Regions from separate parts of the Homo sapiens genome. Here region 2 is linked to region 1. Evidence: promoter capture Hi-C in human tissues and cell types (Jung and others, 2019). All regions are on one chromosome and are shown on one strand. The core of a region is centred on a gene start or on the middle of the fragment in contact, and the rest is flanking DNA. Distances in the headings are between cores, read along the strand shown.

What was found. Contacts are between HindIII fragments. The study calls those that stand out against the background at their distance.
Region 2: a fragment that was not itself captured here is called in contact with the fragment with the promoter of PCDH19 in region 1 in 1 of the 25 tissues and cell types used here (adrenal gland).

Annotation. Positions count from the first base shown.
Region 1 is chrX:100,408,834-100,415,423 of GRCh38, reverse strand. PCDH19 (protocadherin 19) reads left to right here and starts at 5,151. Exons shown (of 6, transcript NM_001184880.2): 1 at 5,151-6,590. The HindIII fragment of the contact is 11,006 bases long and covers 2,304-6,590 here.
Region 2 is chrX:100,069,724-100,076,570 of GRCh38, reverse strand. No RefSeq gene overlaps it. Among named protein-coding and RNA genes, the nearest start is that of PCDH19, 340 kb to the left of the region's middle. RefSeq lists an enhancer at 5,515-6,460. The HindIII fragment of the contact is 6,682 bases long and covers 1,663-6,847 here.

The DNA of each region.
Region 1 (6,590 bases), core at 3,902-6,401:
GTCCCCATGACGTGTGCTTATTTAGGGACAGTTACGAGTTTGGCAGCAGCAGGGGTTTGGTCCTGTGGGAAGTGCCATTCCTAAAGGGAGGGGATAAGGCATGGAGGAAGTTTGGACATAGCTTGTTCAAGGATGCTGGCCTTGTCAAAATGGGAAGACATGAAGTGATTAATAACTTTCTCAGTCTCTTTTTCTCCACTGTCCCGCACATCTCTTGTGTTTCTTGGAAAAGGCAGGCATCGGGGCCATGGTGAACAATTTTAGCACTTAAGAAACACTTTCTCTACTTTGTTTATCTGCTACAGCTCCCTGCTGTTAATGTTATCCTCTGTCACAGGGTAGGAAAAGGGGTGGAGTTTGAGAGGAAGAGAGGGAAAAGTGTGAGGGACCTCAAAGGTTTTTCTTGGCCTCTGTCCTAGTCTTCTTGGTGTTCCAGAAGGGTTAGAAACAGCATCCAGGATAACCCCACCCCTGCCCAGCAGGTCCACATCCCTGATTGCTGCTGTTGATGCCTTTCCTTATACTGTCTGGGACAGTGGCGGGGGAGGCAGGAAGGGAGGGAAGGACTATCTAGAAATCGGGCAATCATTGTGGGCAGAAGAGAACAGAATTTTAGGAAGCTGTCGACATAATATATCTCATCCTAGTTTCTCCTCTAGGAAAATTTATAGTACATAGACATACATGCTGTTATTAAATTAATCAACTGCATGTTAAACTACATAAGGGCAAGGTCCACTAAAAAAAATTCTCAATCCTTAACACAATGCTGGACAAAAAGCCAACACTTGTTGATCTCACGAGGGAAGTGGTTGAGTTTTGTGTAATGAGGTCGTCTTGGAAAATCGTTGAACTGCTCTGCAACTGTTTCCACATCTGCAAAGTGTCTTTATCTCCCAGGGATATTGTAAAAATTAAATAAGATGATGACTTTAATAATGACACTTTATAGTTTTTTTCCCATTTCCTCCATTTTCATTCTTTGATGTTCTCTTCTCTAGGCATTGTAACCTAAGTAAGGAGATCAGATATGCAGTCAGAAGAAGTTTGATTGAATTTGCTAATTTTAAAATCAATTTTTTCTTTCTAAGAGAACCTCATCAGGCAGCTGGTCAAACTAGTTGGGTGGAATGGGATCCCCATGATATGCAGTGAAAGCCAAGCTAGAAGATGACCCACTTTTCTGCAGCCAGGGCAAAGAGAAGGGGGCAAAAGGAAGGAGGAGGAGGAGGAGAGAAAGAGAGAGACTGGAGTTATTTGAAGGCTAATCTCTTTTGAGCTTAAAGCAAACATTAAAAAAAAAAAAACATATCTCAGGCTAGGGCACAGTAGCTTATGCCTGTAATCTTAGCACTTTGGGAGGCCAGGGGAGAAGGATTGCTTGAGGCCAGTTTGAGACCAGCCTGGACAACAGAGAGATACCCCATTTCTACAAAAAATAAAATGAAAAGAATGAGCCAGGTGTGACAGTGCACACCTGTATAATCCTAGCTACTCAGGAGGCTGAGGTGGTAGGATTGCTTGAGCCCTGGAGTTTGAGGTTACAGTGAGCCATGTCTGCAGCATTGCACTCTAGCCTGGGCGACAGAATGACACCTTGTCTCTAAAACAACAGAACAAAACAAACACATCTCAGAAAGCTTCCTTAAACTTGTCAGAGTTACAGTCCCTCATATACTGGTATCTTGGTTCCTACCATTACTTTTCACCTTTCTGGACAAAACCTTTCACCATACCCTTATCAATCTTAGGAGAACAAGAATTAGCTTCACATACTGGTTTGATCTAAAAGTAAGATTTCTCCCATTTTGGTCCTCTTTTATTGCCATTCAGCATGATTTTAGTGGCATGGATGACATTTTAAAGACAAAAAAAATTCTCTTTGCCAATTTTGATTCTGGCCTCAGTGGAGCTGCTTTGACCTGGAGAGCAGCCGTAGGCGGCATAGCACCATTAGTATTAGTATTTCTTAGTAGCTGTTGGATTAAAAAATACTGAGGATGGTCACTAGATGTCCCTCTTGTGTCTCTAAAGAGGCTGAGGAGGCGGGGCTCCCTTCAGGATTGAAGTAAAGGGAAGCTAAAACGGAGAGAACTTTCTTGTTTTTATTATCTACATGCAGAACGATTTTATTCAGTTAGTTAATAAATTCCTGATCATGAAAGTGTTTTGGGCTACTCATTTAGTCAATGGCATTCTTGGAGTATAATGATCGAGTGTGCCTATTAGAAAAAAAGAAATTCTGAGGGCAAAGGCTGTTGTTAGGATTATCTGTAGAAATAGACTGGGGGATGGAAGAGCTATTTTGTGTGTGGGGATGGGGAAGGCTGTGTAACTGTCACTTTGAGATTAGGGGTGGGGAGGAGATAATAGGAAAGAAGGAAAGCATAGGCACACGCCCCTGCCTCCCTTAGCACCTGGCTTGTGTAAAAGTGGTTTGGTAGCTGGAAGTACTTGGATGCTCTCCTTGGAAAAGAGGGGTGCCTGGAGTGTGAACAGCGAGCAGGAAGCAGGGAACACGGTGGCATCGCCTTAGCAAAGAGGGTTTGTCTTTGCAAATGCAGAACATGTCTTTACATTGTGATTGCAATTATGAAGGTAATGACATTGTACATGAATTGAATTCTCCTATTTATCTTTAAAAGACAGCAGAATATAGACATTCTATTAGCACTCCCTAAGGTAAGAGGTCTGCAGTCTTCTTATCTTGTTGTGTGCATCTTTTCAGATGCTACGACAATGTTAATCATTTTACCTGAGTAATTCTTCCATTTCTCGTTACCTGGGGGATTGTTAATGGCCGAGACTACTTCTCAGACTCTTTGCTCCCGCTCAATCAAGCCGTGGAGGCGCCAGTTTACTTTTATTGATCAGTGGGTTCCTGACAGCCTTCGCCACAAGGAAGCAGCATCATCCTTTTTTAACTTAAAGGGGGAACAGATCGCCTTAAAGTTTACAGCTAAAAGCTTCTAAGCATAGCATGCAAACATTTTAGCATGCTGCTAATTGTTCTGTTTAAATAGTCCAAGCAATATTTTAGAAAGCTGCCAAACGCCGAATTCACATCCCGTGATCAGATAGCAAACCCATTTCAAATGCCTTTTTAGGCCTTTTTAATTAGACCAAGATGCACTTCATTCCCATGCTCTGACATCAAAGGTAAATAACTGTGATAAATCAAATGGAACCCTTCCTTTCGCGGAGCCCGCGAGGTGCGCCCACCGCTGCCTGCCATGTTGTCATTCTCTACTACTTGCCCATTTCTCCAACGGTGTCTGGAGAAAACCGGTCGGGCCACCGGGCTCCCTTGAGCCACCACTCTGGTGTCCACCCGCAGCTCTAAATGACCAAAATTAAATGATACTCATTGCAGAAGCATCGGTTTTCTCCCTGTTGTTCTGGGCCGAATCACATCCTAACGTGAAACAGTGAAACGACCCCCACGCGGAAAGCGGATCAGGCTCCCTACGCTCTCCCTTTGGCCTCGGCTACATATTCAGGGGATCGCAATCTCACTCGCGAAATAATTTCTTTCTGTAAGAGGAAGCCGCCTTTCCCCTCTCCCACCGCCAAGGTAAAGGCTGCTAAAGTAGCTCTTCTTGGAAGGAAAAATATTTTAAAAAGCAGCTGGGTTGCTCTCCACAAGAAGATGGCAGTTTTGAGAAAACCCATTATGTGTCCAAATGCCGGTTTCCTTTTCTTGTTTAACGCTTTTTAGAGGGCAAAAATGACGCTCATGTGAAGCCCACAGGCTCGAGCCAATGTCGCTGGGCTAATTATGAGTCTGCTTATCCCACTCCCAAATATCCGAGACGACTCACTCAGAAGACATTTTTACTCTTCCAAGAATTGTGAATTCAGAAGCAGCTTCCCCACATTCTAAGAGAAAAAAAAACTTGTTTAACGGGCACGTTTTTGATTTTTTTGCCGCTGGCGACCTTAATTAAAAGCCTCAGAGCCCGGGTGGGGAGGAATGCCCCGCTGCCCCCAGGGAGCCTTCAGTGCAGAAGGCAGGATGAGCTTGATGTCAGCCCTGGCCACGCCGGCCTCCCGCTTCCCAGTACTGGCACATGCCGCAGCCACCACCGCCGCCCAAGTGGAGCTGGCAGCCCCCTGGGACCGAGACCCCGCGGGAAGGCTGGGGCGCCCTGCACATCGGCGCCGGCTCCCAGCTGTCGGCGACCTAAGCGGACATGTATGGCGTGCCCGCCCCAGAGCTCCTGCCCGGCTTTGAGCTCTGCTGGCTTGGCGCGGCGCGGCGGCGTCCGCTCCACCGGCTCTTCTCAAACGTACAGTTTATTTATAGGGAGCTAAATTCTCCAACAGGGTGGGGTGAGGGGCAATGAAATGTGTCCGGCCCCCTCCGTAGCTCATTCTCTGTGCCACATATCCCATTTGATTAACAAGCAACAGACAAGAGCGAACCGATCCAGGGGCCCTGCTGGGAGTGCGGCACGCAGAGAGTAGTGCGGCGTCTGCCCGGGGTGGAAGGATGGGGGTGACGGTCCGGGGGGGTGGCGGCCGTGGCTCTGGCCTGATGTGAAGACACACCGGCTAAGAGCTGGATGAATGACCACCTCAGGGGCGCTTTCTCCTTCCCTTTCTTCCTTCCACTACCAGAGAATGAGAAGAGAGGAAAACAAAAACAGACGATTTTTTAGGGTGAAGAGACAAGGAGAAATAGAGGGATATATATATGTGTGTATATATATATATATGTGTATATATATGTATATATTATATTCAAGATATGAAGATATGTAAGGGAGGTAAACACGATAAGACAATCATATCATCCTCATCTTTCCTGAAATCTCTGCAAACATGAGAAGCGCACAGTTCCCGGCGAGGCTCAGCCGCAGCGCCAGCACACCGCCTCCCTGCTCATTCCTGCCCTATTGCTCCTGCCTGGCCTGCCTGGCCTGTCTGTCCGTCCTCCCATGAATCCCGCCAGGGCTCCATGGGCCGGGGTACCACTTGGTCCCGCCGGTGTGAAGTTTCCGCTTGGCCCCGCCCCCCCGCTACCCCCCGCCTCCGCTTGGCCCCGCCCCAAGACTGGAGCCCGCTGGCGGCGCGCTGATTGGCCAGGGCCTGGCGTAGCCGGGCTCGGCAGCTTGAGCTTTCTCCGGCTTTCTCCAGACTCCGCGGCCAGTAGTTTGCGGCATCCGGAGGAGCAGCAGCAGCAGTAGCGGCGGCGGCTGGCGCAGCGCGGAGACGGACGAGCGGGCACAGACGGCAGCACAGCTCCCGTGCACCATGCCTGGCTTGCCCGGGAGGCACTGGCACCCGCGTCCCTAGCCCGGCGCTGGCCCTTGGCGCGTTGCGCTCCGCAGCATTCCGGCTGAGCGATTTCATCCGAAATCCTAAACCTCCTACCCCAAACCCATTGCCTCCTGCTTGCTCATACTCCACACTCACACTCCCCACACCACACACTCACTCTTCCTCTCTCTCTCACACATTCACACACAGCCCGAGACAGACAGAGAAAGCGAGACAGACCTCCCGAGTGCGCGAGCGCCCGGGAGGAAGGGAGCCCAACGCAGCGCGGCCAGCGCCTCTCCGGGAAGATGAAATCAAGACGCTCCTGCAAGTAAACTTCGGCGGCGACAAAATCGTCGACTGTGGCAGCTGCTGAGGCGGACCCCAGCGACGTGCAACTGAGCTAGGAGGGCTTCCTCCCGCGGCGGCGGCGGCGGCGGCGGCGGCGGCGGACCTTGGAGCGACACCCCAGCCCAAACGGAGAGAAGAGAAGCACCCGGTACCCACGGCGGCGGCCCCGCCTCTCCTGGCCGGTACTGTTGTTGCCTCCCCTTCCCTCTTCCCCATTCCCCGCCACCCCCGGCCATTAGAAAGACCGGGGCTTTGATTTTCTTGGACAAATTGCCATCTCCCCGTTTCCACAAACTTGACGTGGAGGGTCGGACTGCGTTGTTAACTTTGATTTCCTAGACGAAAACGCCCGCAGACCCTCAACTGCTCTGTGGGGGGAACTCCGCTCCCACCTCGGATCCTGGACAGACGCGCCCCCAAGCCCTTCGAAGCCAGCCTTAGCGCGAGGGAGCGCGCTCAAGCTCTGGCAGCCTCTCTCCCCTCCCCCTTCCTCTGCTGGCCCCGGGACCGCCATCCGACTCAACCCTATAACCGGGTGCCCGCGGCGCTTGCCAGTAACTGACTCCCGTCTGCGACACCCCCTTTCTCCCGAACAGGCCTCGAAGAGGCCAGTGTGGCCCCCCCAGACCCCGGAGGGCGCATTCCAAGCGGGTACTCTCTCCGCAGTGAACTGGGAGCGCTGGGGGGAGGTCTTTGCGCATGCCAGGTGCACAGACAGCGAGTTCGCCAGCCTCAGTGCCGGTGCACCGCGGCGGGCCGGGCAGTGCCTGAAAGGCTGCGCCTCCTCCGCCCTCTTTACCTTCGCCTCAAGTACTGTCCGGACTCAGCGGTGCGTCCTCCAGGCCGCGCAGACGCCGCCCGACCCGCAGCCCTGGGCGGCTGCCGACAGTCGCGCCCGGCTAACTTTGAAGGGGTAAAACTGAGTAGCCGGGCTGGAGGGAGGGGGCTCGGGGCCGCGCGGCGCTCCCTTGGCCCCT
Region 2 (6,847 bases), core at 3,754-6,253, 340 kb after region 1:
TGCTGGGATAAGGCTGACTCAGATAGTGATGATTATAGCAAAACTCTTTCTATATTTTGTTTTTGGTAAAGAATAAGAAAACTGTGGGAAATTATACTTGTAGATAAATTTGAATAATGACTAGGTTATTTCTTCCTGTACTTTAATATACCTTGGGCATAGATTGCATGGATATTCCGTGAGTTGTACATAGTAGGTAATAAAGAAATATTTATTAACTGGATATCCTCAGTTATATAATACTTTTACTTCTTAAGTCGTAATGGGTGGTGATTAGGGACTTTGCTAGTTGCACCACACACAACATGGCCTTTTGGGTGCAACTCTTTTTTCACTTGAGCCATCTGCTGGCAGTGAAGGGGTGCTGGTTGTTGTCTGTGATCCTCACAGAATCATTCTGTCAGAGGCTTATGCATCCGTTAAGAAAGTATCACCCACTTAGTACTAGTTTCACAGAAGATCATGCAACCATTTTGTGTTTCTGAAAATTTATTATAAATATAAGAATTGACACAGTTGGCAATATAAAAATTGATTAGTTTGGGGGTGAGATGGGGTGGGGTAGAGATCCAATTATCATTATCTTCCTTTCATCTGAATATCCTGTTTTCCTAACCTTCTCAGATTCTGCAGCAAAATTCTGTAAGGAAAAAAATGAAATCCCTTACAGAATGATAGCAAGGAGGAATGAACTGGGTCAAGGGACTTTAGCTTTAGCCTGATAATTTCAATCTGACCCAAGTCAGTAATGAAACTTGGTAGATGCACTATGGGAAATTTGATGATAGTCTAGGGTCAAACTTAATGGGCAAGTGCATCTATCAGCACAACACATCACCAGTGAGCAATCACATTTATGATCTCAAAAGAATTAAAGAGGCAATGAAGGCAAAATGCTTCTCAAGGAAAATAGGTAGGCTCCTCTCTGTCAAGACTGAGATTAAAATCCTCTGAGCCAAGGTTCTATTTGCCACCTTTAGTGCTAGTGCCACAGAAGTCAAGTCATGGACTTCTAATTTGATTAAAAACTTAAGTGCCCTCAATTTTACTGCTTTAGGTTTGCATTATGCATCATTGAGTCATAAGATGGGAAGCATCTGTTTGAATTTGCAAGAAAGTATCAAACAGAGACTTTTTAACATAGCTCATCAAGACCCAGCAAAGGCAGCACAACCAGCAGCTCAAATGGGTAATATTATGGATATTTCCAGATTCAGCAGGTGCCAGGAATGCCTTGTAACTTGCCTTGTCACCAGGTTGCTAATTATTATAGTCCAGGTTCCAGGGTCATGGGATGGATGCTGAAGCATATACTGAATGAACATCTCTAGTGCAGGTGTGATTGAGGATTGGATGTCTATAAATAAGCTATAATATGGTGTCCAAAAGATAAAGGTGAAAACACCAGAGGACTCTTGTTCTCAATCAATAAGTGAGCATCTATTACAGTGTTTTCATTGTGGGATACAATGCATTTGGCAAGGAGGAATTGATCAGTCTTTGCAAAAAATCTAATAAAGGCAGCCTTTAGTTTCCCATTTTTACTTTGCTCATTGGGAAGAGTATACGAGGTGATGTCTGCTTGCCTAAACTCTCAAAGGCTCTAAGATAGTGGCTCTCAACCTTGACTGCACATTAAAATCACCTAGGGAACTTTAAAAACAAAATCCAGTGCCTGAGTCCTGGATCACTCCCCACCCCAGGAATTTTGACTTGATGGCTCTGGGATGAGATCCAGGTAAATAACAAATTTAAGGGGTACAAGTGCATTTTTGTTACATGAATATATTGGGTAGTGGTGAAGTCTTGGCTTTTAGTGTATCCATCACCCAAATAAGGTACATTGTACCCATTAAGTAATTTCTCATCATCTACCTCCCTTCCACCCTCCCCCTTCCAATTCTCCAATGTTTATCATTGCACATTCTTTTTGAGATCTCACTTATAAGTGAGAACATGAGGTATTTGACTTTATTTTTAAAAGTTCCTGGGTTGTTTTTTAAAGCAAGATGTTTGAGAGTCTAATAATTCAATTAGATTCATGTGTTAGCTCCACCCATAGGTCAAATAGGTGGCACCCAAGTGGTGAGATTTCAAGTGTTCTGAAAATATGTTTGGCCCCTTGGTATTTTTCTGGCATCAGCCCTGCCATACCACCTAATATAGCTATGTTATGATTTGTATATCCTAGCTAAATTGCTGATTTTTTTGGGAGAAGTGATACATTAATACCTTACTTTGAATTTATTTATCAGATTAGCTAGCAAAGAGAGCATGGATTTTAACAGTGGAACCAAAGATCATTAGATGGAGTGATACCTCTGGAGGGAAGTTATGCCTAGGGTGACTAATCTTCCCATTTTGCCTAAGACTGGGGGGTTTCCTGGGATGCAGGACTTTCAGTTTTATCAGTCCTGGGCAAACCAAGATGAGTTGGTATCCATAGGCATGGATGTGGCACCAAGACCTATAAGGGCTTTGGGTGCCTGCCTAGGAGTGAAGGACTCTAAAGGAGAAGAAGAGAAGACATCAGAATGAAGGACCCGTTTCTCCTACTTTGCCATTTGGTCTGGTGATGATATACTATGACAACAGTGGGGCAGGATCATTGAAAATAGTGTGGGTTATTTATTTTTCTTATTTTCTAGAAGAAACAAAAAATAGTTATATATTTTTTGTTGTATTTTCTTTTTTATTTCTAGGAGATAGAACATTCTGTGGCTTTGCCTAGGGGTGGCGTGTAGTTTATCTTGTCAAGTTTATGAATACGATGATTGGCTTTCGGAAAGCCTCAACTCAAGAGACTTTCCAGAGAGCTTAACTGGAAGGAGAAGTCCAGAAGCGAGGCCTTTGAAAGTGGGTTGGAAGAAGCAGCAGGATAGTGAAGGAACAGACTTTGAAACTAGTTAGGGGATTGTGGATTGGGTTATCAAGAAAACTGAAGTGCTTGAGCTGTGTGTGTGTGTGTGTGTGTGTGTGTGTGTGTGTGTGTGTGTCTAGAAGGCTGTGTGGTATACCTAAGGATGCTAAATCTGAGGCCTATTCTTCACAAAAATTCCTATGTCCAGGATTGTACAGAAGCTATTGAGTGGTCCAATTTTAAAAGTCCAATGAGAATTTATAAGTGGTGCCTGGTGTAAACCTATAATCAGCAACCTTCCCCAATGTTCTGCTCTATGGGAGACTGTTGGGATGTACAGTAATGAAGGCCATTTAATTTACTGCAGGTCCAGTAGAATGAGGGCTCAGAGTAAAATTTGGTTAAGGTTAAACAAAAATTGATGTTTCTAATATGCACAAGTGTGTGGAGAAAAATTTATACCCACTAAATTTGCTATCAAGAACCTACTATATGGCAGGCACTTTATTATTATATATTATTAATGTTTATAACCTATGAAGATGTGTATACATGTATGTGTGTATATAAATATAACAAGTATATATACATACACATATAATTATATAATATTTATATGTAATACATACATTTTACAGATGAGGATCAGAGAGCTAATGCTGACTCACCATATAAGTTATAATAAGTGGCCATTGCAGAACTGGAAAGTTTAATCCATGCCTGTCCAATTCCAAATTCTGTGCTGACACCACTCATCATATAAGTTATAATAAGTGGCCATTGCAGAACTGGAAAGTTTAATCCATGCCTGTCCAATTCCAAATCCTGTGCTGACACCACTCATCATGTTACTTCTGTATTGGTTAGATACATTAACAGGAAAATATAATACTGCAATACTTCTCTGGCTATTTGTTTCCTTTCTCCAAAGGAAAAAGCATAGGTACATATTGAAGGAGCAAATGTGATGACATGTTTTGTGGGGTTGACCTTGCTTCCTTGGATCACATTTTCACTGCTTTCAAAACCTCTGGACTGAACTTAGTCTCTGGGATAGGCAGTTCTGTGATAGAATTGTTTGGTGCAGATGTTTTTGGGTGTGTCTGTGTTTCTACCTGGAACAAACTCAACTTTATTTCTAGACACTTTTAAATGTGTTTCATGTGGCTTGTGACCACAATTCATCACCAGTGATTTTTCTCTTGGCCAGTTTCCATCTATCATTCTATTGCAGCAAGAGAAAGGAGAGCAACTCTAGAAAGTGGCATATAGCCTGGTAATTAGGTAATTTGCTTTCCTATCCTAAATGGAGCAATTTTTAGGTAAGTGGTGCCTCTTTTGGCTTCCTAAGGTTACTGCATATAATTTTGACAGGGCCTAAGTAGACAAAAATTCATGGAGACAATCTAGCTTTAAACAAGGTGAAATCATTAAAGGATTGAACATAAGAACAAGGATGGAAGTGGATCTAGTCACTAGTCATGTTCTTAAGGATTCTTGCTATGGTTTGTTTTCAAAGATATAATTAACACATGTTAAGAGTAGATAGACCTGAGTTTGATTCCAGCTCCAAACTTGCTGTGTGACTTTAGGTAAGTCACATAAACTCTACACTGTATTATCTTCTGTCTTTAAAACAGAGATGATACTATATGACTCATGAGGCTTAAATGAAATAATGTATGTAAGAGTGCAGTATCTGGCATGTAGCAAATGCTCAATAAATGTTAGCTGCTATCATCATCATCATCATCATCATCATCACCATCATCATCACCACCATCATCATTTTTCTTTTGTAGTAAACATCACATTCGATTTGTAAAAGAATCATATTATTTCCCTTTAGATTTAAAAAATGCTTAAAAGTTTATTTTTCTTATTTTGTTTGTCTACACATTTGTACAATTCTGTAAAACAATTTAGTGTAATGATTTTTAGGCAATGTGTAAATATACACAGAAAGTAAAAAGCATGTATAAGCCTGATATTATAAATTAAAATATTGCCCTTAATGAGTCAGGAATAGTTTGGAAATAATAGGACAACCTGTCTTCTAGGATCTTAGCTTAGTTTACCTTGTACTGTAGTCAAAACATGTTTTGACCTTTGATTATATATGTATTTTTGCTTCTGTTGAAACTGCATTGCCTCAATCAAAAATAGGTGTTCATCATCTAATATGTTCCAGGGTCTGGTGATATTCAGGACACGGTAATGAATTAGACATAATATTTCACTGAAGAGAGTTCTAAATCTAATAACTGTGCCACTTCAGTAGCAGAAGTTGGTTTTCATGTGGACTTGACCATATTTACCACTTATACAATATATGAATGATCAAGAAAAGCTTTGATGTAGGAGGTTAAAGTCTTTACCAGTTGGCAAGGCAATGTCAGTGCCCTTTACTGACAAGGATTTTCAGACGGGGGAAGGATTAGATTTAGATTTCTCTTTAGTGGCTGTTTGGATCCACATCTATGCAAACTCGTAAAGATGAATAAGTATCAGAGGGCAGAGTTTGGTTCAAATATAAAACTTGAAACAATTTGAAAATTTAATGTGCGCCTCAGTTCTATAGAAGTGTTTAAATAAATGCTAAATGACCAGAGGTCTGGGTGGTGGTAGAGTTCTTTCATGAATTTAATAGGAGATTGACCTCGATGGTCTTTCAGGTTCCTTTTAGCTCTGAGGTTCTATAAAACATGGAGAACTCTCTAGTGGATTAGATTTCCATGTTGTTAGCAATAATTGTTTTTTCAGCATTTCTCTGTTGGCATAATAAAAAACATGTAGTTTGTTGGGCAGTTTAATTCCTTAATTTCACCCTTGGAGAGTATAACTTGGATAATTTCTTATATAAAGGTACACAAGACTCTTGGGATTCTAATGTTTTCTTATTGTCAAAATAAAGTATCTATAATGGTACTTGACTCACAGTAAACAGCAGAATAGTACGTGTCTATTGCTATGTGCAAAGTACTTTCTCTTATCAAAGAGCACACCTTTATCTTAGTTCTTACCAAAGAAACCTCAATTTTTTTCTGCTTCTACCTTCTGGGATTCCCCCAGTGTGGCCTAGTGAATTACCCCCCTGTAGTTTCAGCTTTGTTTCAGTTCCCAAACCAATCCCCCTTTAAAGCTTTTGATTGTTATTCTCCCTGCTGGTCTACTCAGGAAACGATTGCCTAGCACTGATCTCTGGGCTCCTATAGTGTTCTTAAGTCACTTTGTATTTGTCTGTACTATACAGACTAGTGGCCTACAGGACCTGTGACACAGTATTCTAATGCTGACAACTGTTCTTCTGTATTGACTCTTGAGTTCCAGCTTTTCCTTCCTGAGTACCCCAGTTCGCAGATTTAAACTGTTGGTTTGAACTATGCTCAACAGTCATGTTCTGATAATTGGTCTAGTGTATCTTCCTTTTTCATCTGGTATAATAATAGTAATAATAGCTATCATATATTGGTGCTTACTATGTGGCAACTTCACCATACTTTTAAAATAGAGATGCAAAACTGAAAAATTCAGAGAAGAGTAGTAAACAAGATTAGAATGGGTTTTTCTTTTCATATGAGAACATGCTACTGGGATAGGGATTTTACTTTAAAGGCAAGAGGTAATTGGAATCTCATCTTCAATGGTTGTTATGGGGAGAGATATTTAATAGCTTTTTTATTCAGAGATTTAAAAATGGAAAAGTGCTTAAAACAGAAGCAGTAGAAATTTCTATTGAAAATAATGAAAACCTTTATGGTTATCAAGGTGTAGAAAACTCACTATGGGCAACCAAAGACTGTTGATTAGCCTGTTCCTGGTTTAAAAAATTGCTTCAAAGCTGGCTACAGAAGGCTGTACAATTCACAAAATAATCTAAGAGCTGTTTTAGGTACTGTGTAAACATGGAGAGAATGAAAAACATGTGAAAGATTGATATTATTAGAGCTAAAATATTTTGCTGATTGACTTCAAGAGACTTGATAA